Regions from separate parts of the Homo sapiens genome. Here region 1 is linked to region 2. Evidence: promoter capture Hi-C in 16 types of primary human blood cells and fetal thymus (Javierre and others, 2016). All regions are on one chromosome and are shown on one strand. Each heading gives the region's core, a stretch centred on a gene start or on the middle of the fragment in contact. The rest is flanking DNA. Distances are from core to core; before and after follow the strand shown. Region 1 overlaps SETD7 (SET domain containing 7, histone lysine methyltransferase). Region 2 holds the start of ELF2 (E74 like ETS transcription factor 2).

Region 1 (2,700 bases), core at 197-2,696, 350 kb after region 2:
AAGGGGATACATTTTGAGAAATGTGTCATGAGGTGAGTTGGTCATTATGCAAACATCAGAGAGTGTACTCACACAAACCTAGATGGTATAGCCAACTACACACCTAGGCTATTAATAAATGGTACAGCCTATTGCCCCTAGGCTCCAAACCTGTACAGCTTGTTACTATAGGGAATACCATAGACAACAGTAACCTAATGGGAAGGATTTGTGTATCTAAACATATCTATACACAGAAAAGATGCAGTAAAAATATGATATAATCTTAGCTGGGTGCAGTAGTTTATGTCTGTAATCCCAGCACTATGAGAGTCCGAGGCAGGAAGATTGCTTGAGGCCAGGAGTTTGAGACCAGCCTGAGCAATACAGCAAGACCCTGTTTCTACAAAAAAATTTAAAAATATTTAGCTGGGCATTGTGGTGCATGCCTGTAGTCTTAGCTACTGGGGAGGCTGAGGCAGGAGGATTGCTTGAGCTCAGGAGCTCAAGGCTGCAGTGGGCTATGATAACACCAGTCCACTCCAGTCTGGGCAACAGAGTGAAATCCTGTCCCTTAAAAAATAAAATGAAATAAAAACAAAAATATGGCATAATCTTATGGTACCACAGTTGTTATGGGCCCATGACTGTATACAGAAAAGTCGCAAAGAAAGCACAGAGCATCCTCACTGTTTCTCCTAATGTTAACTTCTTACAGTGCATGGTACATTTGTCAAAATTAAGAAACCAACACAGATACATTACTATGTACAAAACTCTAGACTTTATTTAGATTTCACCAGTTTTTCCACTAATGTCCTTTTTCTCTTCCAGGATCCAATCCAGAATCCCACATTGCATTTAGACTGTCTCCATTTTTAACTTAAAAAAACAAAAAAGACATTTAAAGCAACCCAAATTGGACCTAAATATAAATGCTAAAATTTCCACTTTTGGACAAGCTTCCTTTGGAGATTCTTCTTCAGATCCCAAATAACTAAATACTATTTAAGCCTATTAATGCCCAGATTTATTGTCTTTTCTGTTTTTTTCTCCCTATAACCAAACCTGGCTCAGAAATACATGCATATATTGTTTTCAGGGAATCAGACCAATTCAAATAGCTTTCTTAAGCTGTGCCACTCAAAATGCAAAATCTTGATTTTTCTTTGTATATTTTCCAGATTTTCTACACTTAGTAATTTTATACTCAGAAAAAATGTTTAGTGTGACATGTGTACTTCTAAAAGGAAAATAATACTTTTTTCAAATATGGATTCCATTGGGTTCACTCATACATTGTGCTCCACGCAAGATGTTGGGCTCGAGATGCCAATATGCATTTATATTTTCCAGTCACAGCTCAGGCTCAATCAACTTTACAGTTTAGAGATCTACTTGATTTGGTTCTTTATTATCATAGTACAGTTTTTTGGAGAGATAACCATTTGAAATCAGTTGAATTACTGCTGTCATTTCTTTATTCCCTCCCTATATGAGAATTATATACCTAGGCCCTTTGTCACATGACTTTTCAGTATCTCCCACTAATGTGTATGGTGTAATTTCCCTGTCTCACTGATGTCTGGCTTGGCCATGTGACTTGCTTTGACCAGTGAAAAGTGAGTAAAGTGCCACCATGTCAGTTCCAAGGTGAGGTTTCAAAAGGCATCACAGGTATCTGCTTATGCTCTGACACTTCTGTGATCCACTGTGGGAAAATGTTGCCCCACATTGCCATTGTCCCTTCAGATTAGGCCCCAGAATTAAGACAAAGAGAGCTGACTCAAACCTGACCAGAAGCCTCAAGTCTGGCCTGGCCCCCTAAGCCCAGCCTCAGCCAGCTGGAGTACAGCTGCTCGGCAGAGCTGTGGTTGCTGTTGTAAACCACTGGGGAGGTGCAGTGTCTGTTATGCAATAAAACCTGACTAATAAACACGATTAAAGAGAACTATACAGAGAGGAAAAGAAAAGAAGCTTGTCTCAAATCAGCCCTAACAACCTGCTTTGGAATTGGAGCAACCCATCTGAAGCAGATTCAACTTACTTCCAGGCATCAGTTCAAAGTGAGGCCTCCCTTCTTCAGTGGACATAAGGGTAGCCAGTTTGCCTTCTATCATCTCTCCATCAATAAATTTCCCATAAAGTGCGGTCCTCTCATCAGGGTACACATAGGCTATCTTCTCTCCAGTCATCTCCCCATCTTCATTTACTTCTCCTACAAGGCTTCCTCCATCCTGATGGGAGAAACCAAAAACCAGAAAATATTATATATAGTATGTCTAGGACATGAGTCCCAAGAAATTTCTCTTCTGCAGTCCCATTATTAATATAGCACCAGTAGGGATAATAACAGTTTAGGAACCCAGAGCTTTTCACCTGGGTAAGAAAAACATGATGCATAGCTCCTCATCCAGCTCCATACAAATATACTGCTAGAAAGTCATACGCATTTGGGGCATGTATGCCTGATTTAGAGAGTGGGAAATTCCGTTGCAGTTTGTAATCCGGGACAAGTTACTGATACTCTATGTTGGTTTACTAAGAAATAAATGATGTTTCTTTGATATTTGTAACATCAATTACCAATATTTAAAGGAAATGTAACTAAGTGTTATTTTTGGCCAAAATCAAATATGATGACGATCTTTAGCAAGACACTCCTACCCACTATTCATAAGATCTCCCTTCTCAATATTAAATTTTGGATTTCTAGTGTGT
Region 2 (2,700 bases), core at 159-2,658:
TGACGTGTCCCCCTCTTCCTCATTTAATGAAGTACTAAACTTAAAGGCTATTCTGCAGCGAATCTGCCTCCTAGAAAGAGTCCATCCAGGATGCTGGCAGAGGGAAAAAGATTAGAAACTGTGCGATCTGGATTATTCTTGGTGTCACGGAATATTTTTTGAGTCCTTTATGGACATGGAATAAAAATGCCCAAATGGAGCAGAAGAGAGGGCTCGGCTACCCTGATCACAAAGCTCCTGGGGTAGAGTCAGCATCCAGCCCTGGCAGAGCCCTCCCTGTCCTCCTTCCGCGCCCCTAGACCATCCCGTCGCGCGGTCCCTGAGGACCAGCTTCGCGAGGATCCAGAAGGCGGTCACTGGACGTGCCTGTTACGAGCCCGTTTTTGTTTTGCTTAAGAAACAGATTCCGATCCGAGCAAAGCCTCCCTACCTCCCGGGGAATAGGGGGAGATGGCAGCACGGTGCCGGCGTGGAGAGCGAGAATAAAAGAACTGCCGAGTACAACCTGTCGTGCAAGCTAGCAGCGCCGGGAAGGAAAGGTAAGCGGCGGCGATAAGGCACGACAGGGAAGGAAACTGGTGTCCAGCGCCCCCCCCCGCCTGCCCGCCACCCAGAGCGGCCGGAGCCTCCCAGGTCCCGCCCCGAGCTCGCCGCCCAGCCCCGGCGCCGGCCGCAGACTCCCGCCCTACACAAACCCTCCCAGGACGCGCTTCCTCCGGAGCCGGACCCCCGCCCTGGCCTCCCCGCGGGATGAGGCGGGTCAGTTCAGTCCGCTTCTCGGCAGAGGTGACTCGCGCAGAGATGTAAACACGGAGAGACCAGCTGCGCTCGGCCCATCCCCCCCGCCGGGGTCTGTAACCTCTTCCCTCAGCCCTGCCCCGCGCCCCGCGCTCCCCGCGGGCAGGCGCGCAGCGCGCCTTCCCCTTTCTCCAAGTCCCGCTCCGCGACCGTTGCCTGGGGACACTCAGCCCCCTTCCCCCAGCCCCCGGCCGGTGTCACCGCCGCAGCCGCCGGAAAACCCCTCCGCAAACCCCGAAGCAAACAACACAAGCGCGGGGCGGGGGCGCGGAGGGAGGCGGCGGCAGTCGGGACAGCCAGGCTTTATCGCCGCGCCCTTCGCGCTCCCTCTCACCAGCCTCGGCTGCCCGCGCTCTTACCTGCTCTCCGCGACGCCTGGGAAGACCGCGGCGTCCTTTTCCCTCTCAGCAGGGCCGCGGACTAGCCGCCGCCGTTGGCCGAGCGTCCGGAGGGAGCCGGGGCCTCCCCAGCAGCCCGAGCCGCTCCACAGGGAGAGAAGGAGACAAAACAGAGGCTCGCCGCCCCGCGCAGCGACCCCCGCCCGCGCCGCCCCACCGACCCCCAACCGCCTAGGCGACGGCGGCGACACAGAGCTTGGCGCTGGGAGCAATGGTTGCCCCCGCCCCGCTCCGCTCCCGGCCCCCTCCCTCCACCCCCCGCCTCGGCTCCTCCCCCTCGGCCTCCTGCCGCCTCCACCAGGACACTGGAGTCCGCCTCCCCCTCCCCGCCAGCTCAGAGTGCTCCTCCCCTCCCCACGCGGCGGGGGGGCGGGGGCGGCACCGCCAGTCACCGCAGCGCCTGTCAAACGCGGGCCGGCTATTTATACCCCGCGGGGCCCCGCCGCCCTCGGGCCCCCACCAGCCCGCCGAACCTGCTTCTTTTGCTGTCTTGAATCCCGCCCTCTTCTCCTCGCCCAACTTCTCCCAAACCCGCCTTCCCAGGTAAAGACGCTCGTCACTTGTCCGGCTCCTTGCCCAGGGCTCCCCGATCTCGCTCTCCACTCCAGCCCCGGATTGGTGCAGGGGGCTCTGCCGCACGGGGCAGGCGTGTGAGGCCGATGGGGCCGCGCGTGCACCTGCAGCGCCCGCCGGCTTTCCCCCGCCGGCCGGGACCGCACGCACACACCCTCGCCACTCAGGGCCCCCGCAGGCCCCGCCGTCACCGCATCCCCAACTCAGGACTCTCGCCCTTCTCCGGAGACGGCCCCACAGTCGGGCAGTCTGACAGTTACAGGGGGGCGAGGTTTTGCAAAAACTCCTAGCCCGGTCTTTCCAGTTCCCACTCCTCAGCCTTGGCTTAGTGAAAGGTGGGGGTTCGGGCAGGAGCGCGACGCCGGCCCCGCCCCGGCCGGTGACGCACGTGGCGCACCGCCCCGCCAGCCTCGCGCCCCTCGGCGCCGCCAGCTCCTCCTCCCCGCTAGCAAAAGCCGGGCGTAGTACACCCGCGACCCCGCCCCATTCCCAGAAATTACCACCCGCCCAACAGCCCGGCCGCGCGGCGGTTGGTGCCGGCGTTTGCTGGCTGTCGGGTGGCTGGGCCCAGCGCGCAGCTGCGGAGCGCGGCGGGCGGCCCCTTGGAGCTGCCCGGGGAGCTGCGGGCACTCGCACCTAGCCATTGTCGCTCCTTGCGCGGTCCGCAACGGAGAAGTAACTCAAGTCTGAGTGTTGTTGGTGCGAGAATGAGAGAGTGTTCTGGTGTGGGAGTATTTTGGCCCAAGTGCCTGCGAATTCGAAAACGAAAACCCAGCAGTGGCTGCACGCTTCTGGTTTCCACACTTTCACACAAAGGGGAGCCTTCGAGCGGGGCACTCTCACGCGCCTTCAAGTGCACAAAAGCCAATGACACGGTGCCGTGGGTTGCCCTGTGTAGGAGCGTCTCTTTAATGGGCTTTGTAGGCACAGT

What was found. Contacts are between HindIII fragments. The CHiCAGO score rates a contact against its expected background, and 5 or more counts as called.
Region 1: a contact is called between a fragment that was not itself captured here and the fragment with the promoter of ELF2 in region 2, in 8 of 17 cell types (fetal thymus, erythroblasts, activated CD4 T cells and 5 more). The highest score is 8.4, in fetal thymus.

Annotation. Positions count from the first base shown.
Region 1 is chr4:139,527,005-139,529,704 of GRCh38, forward strand. It overlaps SETD7 (SET domain containing 7, histone lysine methyltransferase), which reads right to left. Exons shown (of 8, transcript NM_030648.4): 4 at 2,027-2,216. Among named protein-coding and RNA genes, the nearest start is that of SETD7, 28 kb to the right of the region's middle. RefSeq lists an enhancer at 1,499-1,558. The HindIII fragment of the contact is 1,015 bases long and covers 940-1,954 here.
Region 2 is chr4:139,175,810-139,178,509 of GRCh38, forward strand. It overlaps ELF2 (E74 like ETS transcription factor 2), which reads right to left and starts at 1,409. Exons shown (of 10, transcript NM_001331036.3): 1 at 1,158-1,409. It overlaps LOC105379412 (a long non-coding RNA gene), which reads left to right and starts at 346. Exons shown (of 4, transcript XR_007058273.1): 1 at 346-539. RefSeq lists an enhancer at 380-429 and silencers at 1,030-1,989, 2,000-2,379. The HindIII fragment of the contact is 9,266 bases long and covers 1-2,700 here.